Linked DNA regions of Homo sapiens: region 2 is linked to region 1. The links are contacts of gene promoters, found by promoter capture Hi-C in blood cells and fetal thymus (Javierre and others, 2016). All regions are on one chromosome and are shown on one strand. The core of a region is centred on a gene start or on the middle of the fragment in contact, and the rest is flanking DNA. Distances in the headings are between cores, read along the strand shown.

Region 1 (4,502 bases), core at 531-3,030:
GTCCACTCCTAGTGAAGCAGAGGCTGAGGGGCTGCCCCGGGTTGGAGGCCGGGAGGGACTTGGGATTTCCAAAGGAAGCCCAGGAAGGGAGTGCAAGGAAGGGGAGCAGGACAGGCATAAACTGTGGGTCAAGGGGCCGTGGTTCTGGCTCTGGCTCCGCCTTCACTCGCTGGGATCCACATCAGCTAATTTCCCTCCCCCGCACCGGGTTTCAATATTTTACTCTGTAAAAATGAGGAGGCTGCAGTAGCTAGCCTCTAAAACGGTTTTCAAACTGCAGTTCGCAATCCTTTAGTGGATGGGGAATGAAATTAGCGGCCCCAAACCAGTGTTTCAAAAATTAGAATGGGCCAGGTGCAGTGGCTCACGGCTGTAATCTCAGCACTTGTGGAGGTTCCCCCCGAGGCTGGTGGATGGCTCGAGCCCCCGCATTCAAGAACAGCCTGTGCAACATAGTGAGACCGCATCACACACACACACACACACACACACACACACACACACACACACACAGACACACACACACACACACACACAAAATTGGAATTAAAAATGCATGGGGTGTAACTCCTGTAGTAAAGTTAAGTGTTGTTTCTTCGAGCTTTTGCTTCAGTTATAAACGTGTTATCTAAAGTCATGATGTAAAAAATATTCTTACTGGGCTGGATATTCAAGGAAATTGTCAAGGCAGAGGGAAGCCCTTTCCCACCCCGTGGGGTCTCCATACCAGGTCTAAGTACACCTTTGTGCTCATCTCTTCATCCTTCTCGTTCTAGAAGGGAAAAATTTAAGGCGTAAAGGTGAAGTAGGGTGGAGAGAAATGAGGGGGCTCGGGGGGCCAACCTCTCTCCTGGGAACGCCGCCCCCTTTTTCTGAGCCCCATCCTCTCGGGTCCAAGTCCACCTCCCAGAAGCGGCGTTAGTTTAAGACCTGCCTCTATCTCAGAAACACCTCTTCCTGCCGTCTACACTCCCAGCCTATCAACCTACCAGACCCGCCCCTGCCTAGCCCTCCGCCTAGCTCTGTCCCCGGCCCTGCCTTCAGCTCATAATCCACCCAGCCCCGAACCTCCACCCGCTGCCATTTATTGACCCCTGAGCACCAAGCTCCGCCCCACCCTGGGCACTCAGGACTCATGTGGCCCTACGTCGAGGTCCGTCCCCCAGCCCCTGCCTCGTCCCCAGCCCCACTTTAAGGTCCGATCACAGGTCCGTCCTTCACCCTACCCAGTTCTACTCCAGGCCCGTCCACCACCCACGGCCAGAGCTTGTCCATTGGTCTGATTTCGATCCAATCTTCACCAAAGGCTGGTCCATCTCAGCCTGGTCTCGTCCCAGGCCCCGCCCCCAGCCTGTCCCTGGTCCGGCCTTGCCTAAAGCCACGCCCCCGGCCGGTCGGCTGGCCTGACCTCCACCCCCCGCGCGCCCTCACCAGGCTGATGAGTTGCGCCAGGATGAGACCAACGCTGACCCTGACACGGTCTCCCACCTCCCGCGCTGGCCGCACGGAGCTATCATAGCCAGAGAAAAGTTTCTCCCGGAGTCGACCCTCCGCCTCCGAGCCGCGGACGCCTGGGGGAGGAGAGAATAAGTGCAGCCCTGGTGCCTGGCCACGACCGCTGGCCCCGTCACTGCCCCTTCGGGGCCTACACTTACCTGGGGCGAGCGGCGCCCCCAGCGCCCCCAGCAGCATCAGCAGAGCCCCTGGGGTCATAGCCTGGCGGCTCGCTCAGTGACTTCGCTCAGAGAGCCGCTGGGACCGCCAGCACAGGGGAAGTGACGAGGAGCCCGGGAATGTGCACCTGTTGCTGGAGGACAGCCGCCAGCCCACCCGCCCCGCCCCCGGGACTTGATCCTGCCTCGAGCAACTGCCAAGCCCGCCACCGACAGATGACAGACAGCACTTCAGTTGTATAAATCGTCTTTAATTGAGAAAGCTGGAGTGGAGACCCGATCCCCTGGGAGCAGTGCCAGGAGTTGGGTGGAGACTGAGTGGGGTTTGTGTGGGTGAGGGGGCATCTACTCCTCTTGCAACAAGCCAGAAGTAGAACAGCCTAAGGAAAAGTGACCTGCCTTGGAGCCTTAGTCCCTCCCTTAGGGCCCCCTCAGCCTACCCTATCCAAGTCTGAGGCTATGGAAGTCTCCCTCCTAGTTCACTAGCAGGTTCCCCATCTTTTCCAGGCTGCCCCTAGCACTCCACGTTTTTCTGAAAAAATCTAGACAGGCCCTTTTTGGGTACCTAAAACCCAGCTGAGGTTGTGAGCTGTAAGGTAAAGCAAGTTCTATCCAATTAGAAGCTGTTGGGGCGTATGAGGTCTGGAGTGCAAGAGGCCTTCACCCTTCTTGGCCTGACCTGTAGGGGAGAAGGGTGAGACTTATTGCTGAATTGGGGTCTCCTCACTGGGAGGGTCAAGGCTGTATCCATTTGTCCTTTTTATTAAGGACATATTACTCTAAGGACCTCAGCTTTAAAGGGGACCTGGAAGGAATTCCTGCTGAGGTAGCTAAGTATTCATGTCCACCCAACACAGATGCAGGTTCAGTCATGCCATAATTTTGACCCCTCCCCCATCCCAGCTTCCCTACTATGAGCCAGGGATCCTTCCAAAATTCCTCTGCCCTTCTCCAGACTCTGTCTCCCTGGCACGACCTCAGCTGGGTTGAAGGAGCTAGAAACTGCATGTAAAAATAAGCTTAGCATTCTATATGGAAGAATCATATTTTTAGAGAATTATCTAGGAAAAACAAGAAATGGTTCTTGATTCATCCAGAAGTGTTTTTATGAATCATAGCTGGGTCTTTTCCAGAACTCATCCGTAATAGGTATCACTCAAGAAGGCGGGAGGGTGGGGCTAGAACTTACTTAGAACAATAATATGGCTATACAGGCCCCAGCTCCATCCTGGGTAAAAGGGCTGAGAGTCATGATCTATGTCCTAGAGCTAGGATTCAGGGGGAAGTACGGCTCCATAAAGCTCTAGAATTGGGTGTCTCTGGGATAAGAAGGTTAAACCCGTGGTCATCTGAGACTGGTTCCGGTTCAGGCCAAAGCCAACAGCTAGACAAGGCCCAAATCTAGCCTCTTTCTACTTGGAAACCAGGGGTCCATCTGAGTCAATGACAGAGGCCTGACAGATCCAGAGAAAAGGCTGGCAGCATGCCTGGGTTCCAGCACAGAGCCCTAGTGCAGAAGTGGCCCTGGCGAGGGTGTCCAGTGTTCCAGAATGTGTCCAGACCAAGGTAGAAGGTAGAGTAGGGAAAGAAGGACACATGAATCCTGAGCTCCAGTGAATCTAGAAATGGCTCAGTGGCAATGAAAAGGGGCACAGGACTCCAGGAACTGGCTGAGCCGGGGTGGGAAGTGTTTATGCCCTGGCTGTCCATGTGGGAACTCCCAGCGCCATCTCAGGAAAAGGCATGGCGTTGTGTGAGTGTGGAAAGAAAGAAGTGATCAGCCAGGACCATCTTCAGACATCCCCCTCTCTGACTCCCTCCTAGGCCCAAAGATCTAAGGGTCTCAGCAGCCTCGGAAGTCACAGTCAGCCCCTAGGCTCCCTCAGGGTAGAGCACCTAGTGGGACCTGGCTGCTCAGGGCATGTGTGTGGCAGCAGGGGTGAGAGCAGGACTGGGAGACAGGTTGTGGTGGTGGCTGGCTCACTGGGAGTGCAGGGAACCTCCAGTCCAGGGACTACATTTCAGGGGGCAGGGGGACTGGAAGGGGAGGCCTCGGGGACACTGTGGAGAGAAGGCTCCTGGTACATGGCCACTGTGAAGGGGAGAAAGAGAGGAGCAGGGAAGGAGAGTTAGGCACAGAGGGACCCAGGCAGAACCAGTGCTCCAAAAGGGCTCCCTTCCCGTACATTCACCCTCCAAGAACCCCAACCCCACAGGAGGACCGCACCCAAACCCCCAAAGGGCAAAGCCTTCCTGGCTTGATCTGTCACAAAGGGTCCTCTTATCACTTGTAGCCTGAGCTGTCTGCCCCTAAATGTCCATATCAAGGTCAATACCCTCTCCTGTGGCCCACATTTTCTTGAGTCTATACCCACCCTCCAGGAGCTTGGGCAGAAAGTGGGCAGCTGCCTTGGTCTTCTTAACTCGGTTTCCCTTCATGACCTGGCCCTCCTTGTCCAGGCCGAGGTACCAGGCCCGGCCAGAACGACGCTGGCGGTAGAGAGCAGAGGCGTACAGGACGTAGTAATTCTCAAAGACACACTCCTTAAAGCGACACTCAGCTGTGAAATGCGGCTAAGGAGACAAAGACCCAGAAAGGCGCACAAAGACAGAGAGATAAAAAGACACATCACTGGGCAGAAAGGAGCTCATGGAAAGCACAAATCCTTTTTGGGGGAGGGGGAGGACAACTTCTGAGTCCATGTAGGACCTGGGAGCAAAGGGAGGACAAGGAAGAGGGCTGAGGGCTAAGAACTAGGCTCTGGGCCAAGCACAGTGGCTCATGCCTATAATCCCAACACTTTGGGAGGCCGAGGCGGGTGGATCACC
Region 2 (4,604 bases), core at 1,843-4,342, 100 kb before region 1:
CAATCCCTTCTTAGGAAATGGCATCATTCTTCCCAGAGATACCCAAGTTAAAAATCTAGAAGCTGGCTGGGTGCAGTGGCTCATGCCTGTAATCCCAGCACTTTGGTAGGCCGAGGCGGGCAGATCACTGGAGGTCAAGAGTTTGAGACCAGCCTGGAAAACATGGCAAAACCCCATCTCTACTAAAAATACAAAAATTAGCCAGGCGTGGTGGCACACGCCTGTAATCCCAGCTACTTGGAAGGCTGAGACGGGAATCTCTTGAACCTGGGAGGCAGAGGTTGCAGTAAGCCGAGATTGCACCACTGCACTCCAGCCTGGGTGACAGAGCGAGACTGTCTTAAAAAAAATAAAAAATCTAGAAGTCATCTGTGATTCCTCCCTTTCTTTTATTCTTCACCTCCAACCCATAAGTCAGTAATATCTTCAGGACACAGGCTGAACCCATCCACTTCTCACCATCTCTGCTGTGAACCCCTCGGCTGAGCACTCCTCATGCCTCCCTGCCTCTCACAGTGGAAAGACATTCTGGTGAGGGGGATGGTATGTGCAAAGTCCAGAAGAGGCACACCGGGAGCAGGGGTGTCAGCGCAGCAAACATGAAGACAGCATAAGAGTGCAGGGAAATTAGGTTGAGACCAGACCACGAAGAGACTGGAAGCCATGTAGAGAGCCAATACCACAAGAAAAGTGAAGTTTAGGGGCTCAGCATGGCAGCACAGGTCAGATGGAGTGGAGGGGTAGGGAGGGTGTGGAGTGGGGAAGCAGCAAGAGGCTGGATTTGAGGTTCTGAGGTCACGGTGCTGAGGTAGAGGGTGGGGTAGAAATGGAAAAGATGAGCAGACACTAGCAGCATTTAGAGAAAAAGATCATCAGAACGTGGAATATGGAGGAGACAGAAGAAAAAAGAATGAAAAGTGCTTCTTGGAGAAGAATGAGGGCTGAAGGAGAGAGCTGGGACAGTGATTTGCTGGGGGAACTGGGCAGAGTTCTGGGGAAGAGTAGGGGTCTTTCATGGGGTCCCACGCCTGGGTCACAGAGAGAACCAAGACCTTCATGAACTGGCTTCTGTGGTTCTGAGACTGATGGCCGGGAAGGGAGTGGGAGGTCAAAGGTTTTCAAGGGCCCTTTTCCCAGGAGGCCAGTGCTGTGTCGGGGGATGGGGTCTCACCTGCCTGCGCTCCGTCCTGTCCAGGTCGTGGATGAACTGTAAAGTACAGGAAAAGGCTGGTGAGACCTGCCCTGACCCTCTGCCACCTGCCCCTCTCCTCCTGGGTATGGCTCACCCATCACCCACCTTCATAATGGGCTGCGATCGCTCTTCGAGCCCGTGTTTTCCGGCCTTTAGGTGCTGAGGATCAAGGAAAGACAGATGAGCAAAGCGGGCCCTAGTGGGGGTCCCAGAGCAACTCTCCCAGCCCCATTCCCCTCTCAGGAACCCTGGCATCCTTATTCTTGTCCAGACTCCTGGCCTTAGAATCTCAGGCCTCATCTTCCTCAGTAAGTAGAGTGACTATAATTTGTCATCCACACTGGGATACTGCTGAGAGCAAAACGGGAAGCTGCTATTAATCACACCGAGATAACAGGTGGGGGCCAGGACAACTGCATGCCGACTTGGACACGTGGTCATCCGGCCACCCCATCATCCCATTCCTAAGTCTCTTTGCCTACCGGGGCCCAGGCCTCTGACTGCCAGGCCTAGTCTCCATCAGGATCCCAGTAGTTCTTCTAACTCATGGCCACCCTGCCTTCCTGTTTGGGGTAGGGTCTGAAGGAGCACATCCATATGACAGAAGGAGCTTCAGAGGAGGGCGAGAATCCCTAGGTTTGAGTCTTGGCTGGTTAGCTGCATGACTCTGAACTCCTTTCACCCTCCGTGCCTCAGTTTCTCCCTGTGGATAATGGTTTTTGCTCTGCCCGCTTCCTGAGGTTGGGATAGAGGGATGCTCACCACTTCTGCGAGGCCGAACTAGTCGGTTCAGGAAAGGCGCAGGATCCTGGCTTTCTTCTGTCTGGGGATTCAGTTCCTAGGGGAATTAGGGCAGGGTTCAACCACAGACTCCCAGAGATATAAAGTGAGACATACGGGGCCTGTCAGGAGAGCCACCAGCCAGCAATAGACACAGAAGTCAGGGACAGATTAAGCCCCTCAGCCAACTACAGCTGGGGCCCCGGGCAAAGGTGAAGCTGGGAGTCAGGCCCCAGTCCTCACCCTTTCCTCTAGACCAGCTACACTTTCCCACCCACACACACAACCAACGCAGACCCTGCATTCAATTGGCACATTGCACACATGCCCGCACCCAGTCACCACGCACAGAGGATACACACCCTGTACACAACCGCACCCCTCTTCCACGCAGACTCACATATCTTATACAACCACGTCACCCCCAGCCAATAAACACCTCAGACTCAGGTGGCACAACCCCAGCACAAACCCCTCACACAGAGTTGTCACCACGCACACACACCCCTGCAGACACGCACCCATGCACGCACTGTGTTCACACACACCCTGCACACACCTCGAGTACGGCTGGCACAGCTGCACACACCTGCAGCCTCGGCTGTGCACACTTCCCATGCCCCAGCAGCCTGCAGACCGCGCCCACGCCCACTCACCGACGGGTCCTGGTCCTCCTCTGCCACCAGCTCCTCCTGGGCAGGCTCCTGCTGGGAAGGAGGGAGCGTCACCCTGTGCCGCTCCACCTGACATCTCACCCTCCACCCATCCTCCCTTCCCCTTGCCTTCAGCCCACGCGGCCCCCAGCGGCCCCTCTGCAGTCTCAGCTCCTGATGTGCCCAAGAAGGGGTGCGCAGCGGGGCCTCACCTGGGCGGACAGCGATGCCCGGCTCCCCAAACTGACCACGGCCAGCAGGAGGCCGAGGCAGGCCAGCGCCAGGCCCAGGCCCAGCGCGAGCGGGACCAGCAGGGCGGTGCCCGGCTCCCCCCGGCGCCCCCTCCGCCTCTGGCTCCGACGGGCGGCCATGGGGGCGGGGGGCTGTGCCTGCCTCACCGCCCCCCCATCCCGGGACCCGAGGGATCGGGGGAGGGGGAGCCGGCGGGCGGATCGGGCCGGGGAGAGGGAGGGGCAAGGGAAACGGGGCGGGAGGGGGCGCTGGGGACAGGAAGCCGGACGCTGTGTGTGATCAAACTCCGAGCCTCTCGCCGGGCGCTGTGCGCGCAGCGAACGGAGTGGGCGCCCACCCGACCTCTGAGCGCCCAGCCCGGGCGTGCACCACCAGGGCGAGGTCCGTTGCGTGCGGCCGCGGGAGCGACGGGGCTATGCGTGTGCGGGCACCTCCTGCGGGGAGGTGGGGAACTCAGGAAGGCCTGTTGGTTCAGATTCTTCTGTGTCCCTGTGTCTTCAGAGATAAGGACCCTCCTTTCCCCCAGGTGCAGGGAGGGCGCCTCTCGCAGGAGGCTGTTATTTGCTTCTTCAGGAAAAGGGCAGGGAGTTCCAGGTTGTATGACCTGGTTCAGGGAAGAAGGGCAGGAGAAGGTAAGAAAGATCCTTCGGCTTCTGCGGTTTTCTCAAATTCCTTCAGCTTAAAACACTCACTGTGCCGGTAGCACGTTCTGAAGCCCATCATTACCAATGATTGCCAAGCATCTGAGGAGGACCAGCAGCATGCAAAAGAAACACCAAAATTGGTCCGGCAGGTGGCTTACGCCTGTAATCCCAGAAGGCCAAGGCTGGGGGCCAGGAGTTCAAGATCAGCCTGGGCAAGAGCAAGACCCCATCTCTACAGAAAAGTTTTAAAAAATTAGCCCACGCCTGTAGTCCCAGCTACTCAGGAGGCCGAGGTAGGAGGATTGTTTGAGCCCAGGAGTTTGAGGCTGCAGTGAGCTGTGATTGCACCACTACACTCCAGCCTGGGCAACAGACCTTGTCTCAAAAAGAAAGAAAGAAAGGAAGAAAGAAAGAAAGGAGGGAGGGAGGGAGGGAGGGAAGGAGGGAAGGAAGGAAGGAAGGAAGGAAGGAAGGAAGGAAGGAAGGAAGGACCAAAATTGGCTGGGCGCGATGGTTCACGCCTGTAATCGCAGCACTTTGGGAGGCTGAGGCGGGTGGATCACGAGGTCAGGAGATCGAGACCTGCCTGGCCAAGATGGTGAAACCCTGTCTCTAATAAAAATACAAAAAAATTAGCCGGACGTGGTGGCAGGCGCCTGTAGTTCCCAGCTACTCGGGAAGCTGAGGCAGAGAATTGCTTGAACCCAGGAGACAGAGGTTGCAGAGAGCTGAGATCACGCCACCACACTCCAGCCTGGGCAACACAGCAAGACCCTATCTCAAAAAAAAAAAAAAAGAAAGAAAGACCAAAATTAACAAACAAAATTTGACATTGGAGGAAACAGAGATAATTCAGGATACAAAGAGTACTACCTAATATACTTAAAGAGAGTCAAGAAAAAGCATCCATAGAGCTGGGCATGGTGGTGCATGCCTGTAGTCCCAGCTACTCAGGAGGTTGAGATGGGAGGATCACCTGAGCCTGGGAGGTTGAGGCTGCAGTGAGCTGTGATCACACCACTGCATTCCAACACGAGCAACAGAGTAAGACCCTGTCAAAAAAAAAAAAAAAAAAAAGAGTAT

The links. Contacts are between HindIII fragments. The CHiCAGO score rates a contact against its expected background, and 5 or more counts as called.
Region 2: the fragment with the promoter of TNFSF12 here is called in contact with the fragment with the promoter of CHRNB1 in region 1 in 6 of 17 cell types (total CD8 T cells, endothelial precursors, naive CD8 T cells and 3 more); the score reaches 8.1 in total CD8 T cells.

What each region holds. Positions count from the first base shown.
Region 1 is chr17:7,442,339-7,446,840 of GRCh38, reverse strand. CHRNB1 (cholinergic receptor nicotinic beta 1 subunit) reads right to left here and starts at 1,780. Exons shown (of 11, transcript NM_000747.3): 1 at 1,656-1,780; 2 at 1,432-1,571; 3 at 728-772; 4 at 1-8. The coding sequence starts at 1,713. FGF11 (fibroblast growth factor 11) reads right to left here. Exons shown (of 5, transcript NM_004112.4): 4 at 4,049-4,247; 5 at 1,904-3,765. The coding sequence ends at 3,695. RefSeq lists a silencer at 1,659-1,708. The HindIII fragment of the contact is 9,289 bases long and covers 1-2,694 here.
Region 2 is chr17:7,547,546-7,552,149 of GRCh38, reverse strand. It overlaps TNFSF12 (TNF superfamily member 12), which reads right to left and starts at 3,092. Exons shown (of 7, transcript NM_003809.3): 1 at 2,838-3,092; 2 at 2,629-2,676; 3 at 1,955-2,030; 4 at 1,298-1,351; 5 at 1,172-1,207. The coding sequence starts at 2,996. TNFSF12-TNFSF13 (TNFSF12-TNFSF13 readthrough) reads right to left here and starts at 3,092. Exons shown (of 11, transcript NM_172089.4): 1 at 2,838-3,092; 2 at 2,629-2,676; 3 at 1,955-2,030; 4 at 1,298-1,351; 5 at 1,172-1,207. The coding sequence starts at 2,996. RefSeq lists silencers at 2,898-2,977, 3,008-3,197. The HindIII fragment of the contact is 9,939 bases long and covers 1-4,604 here.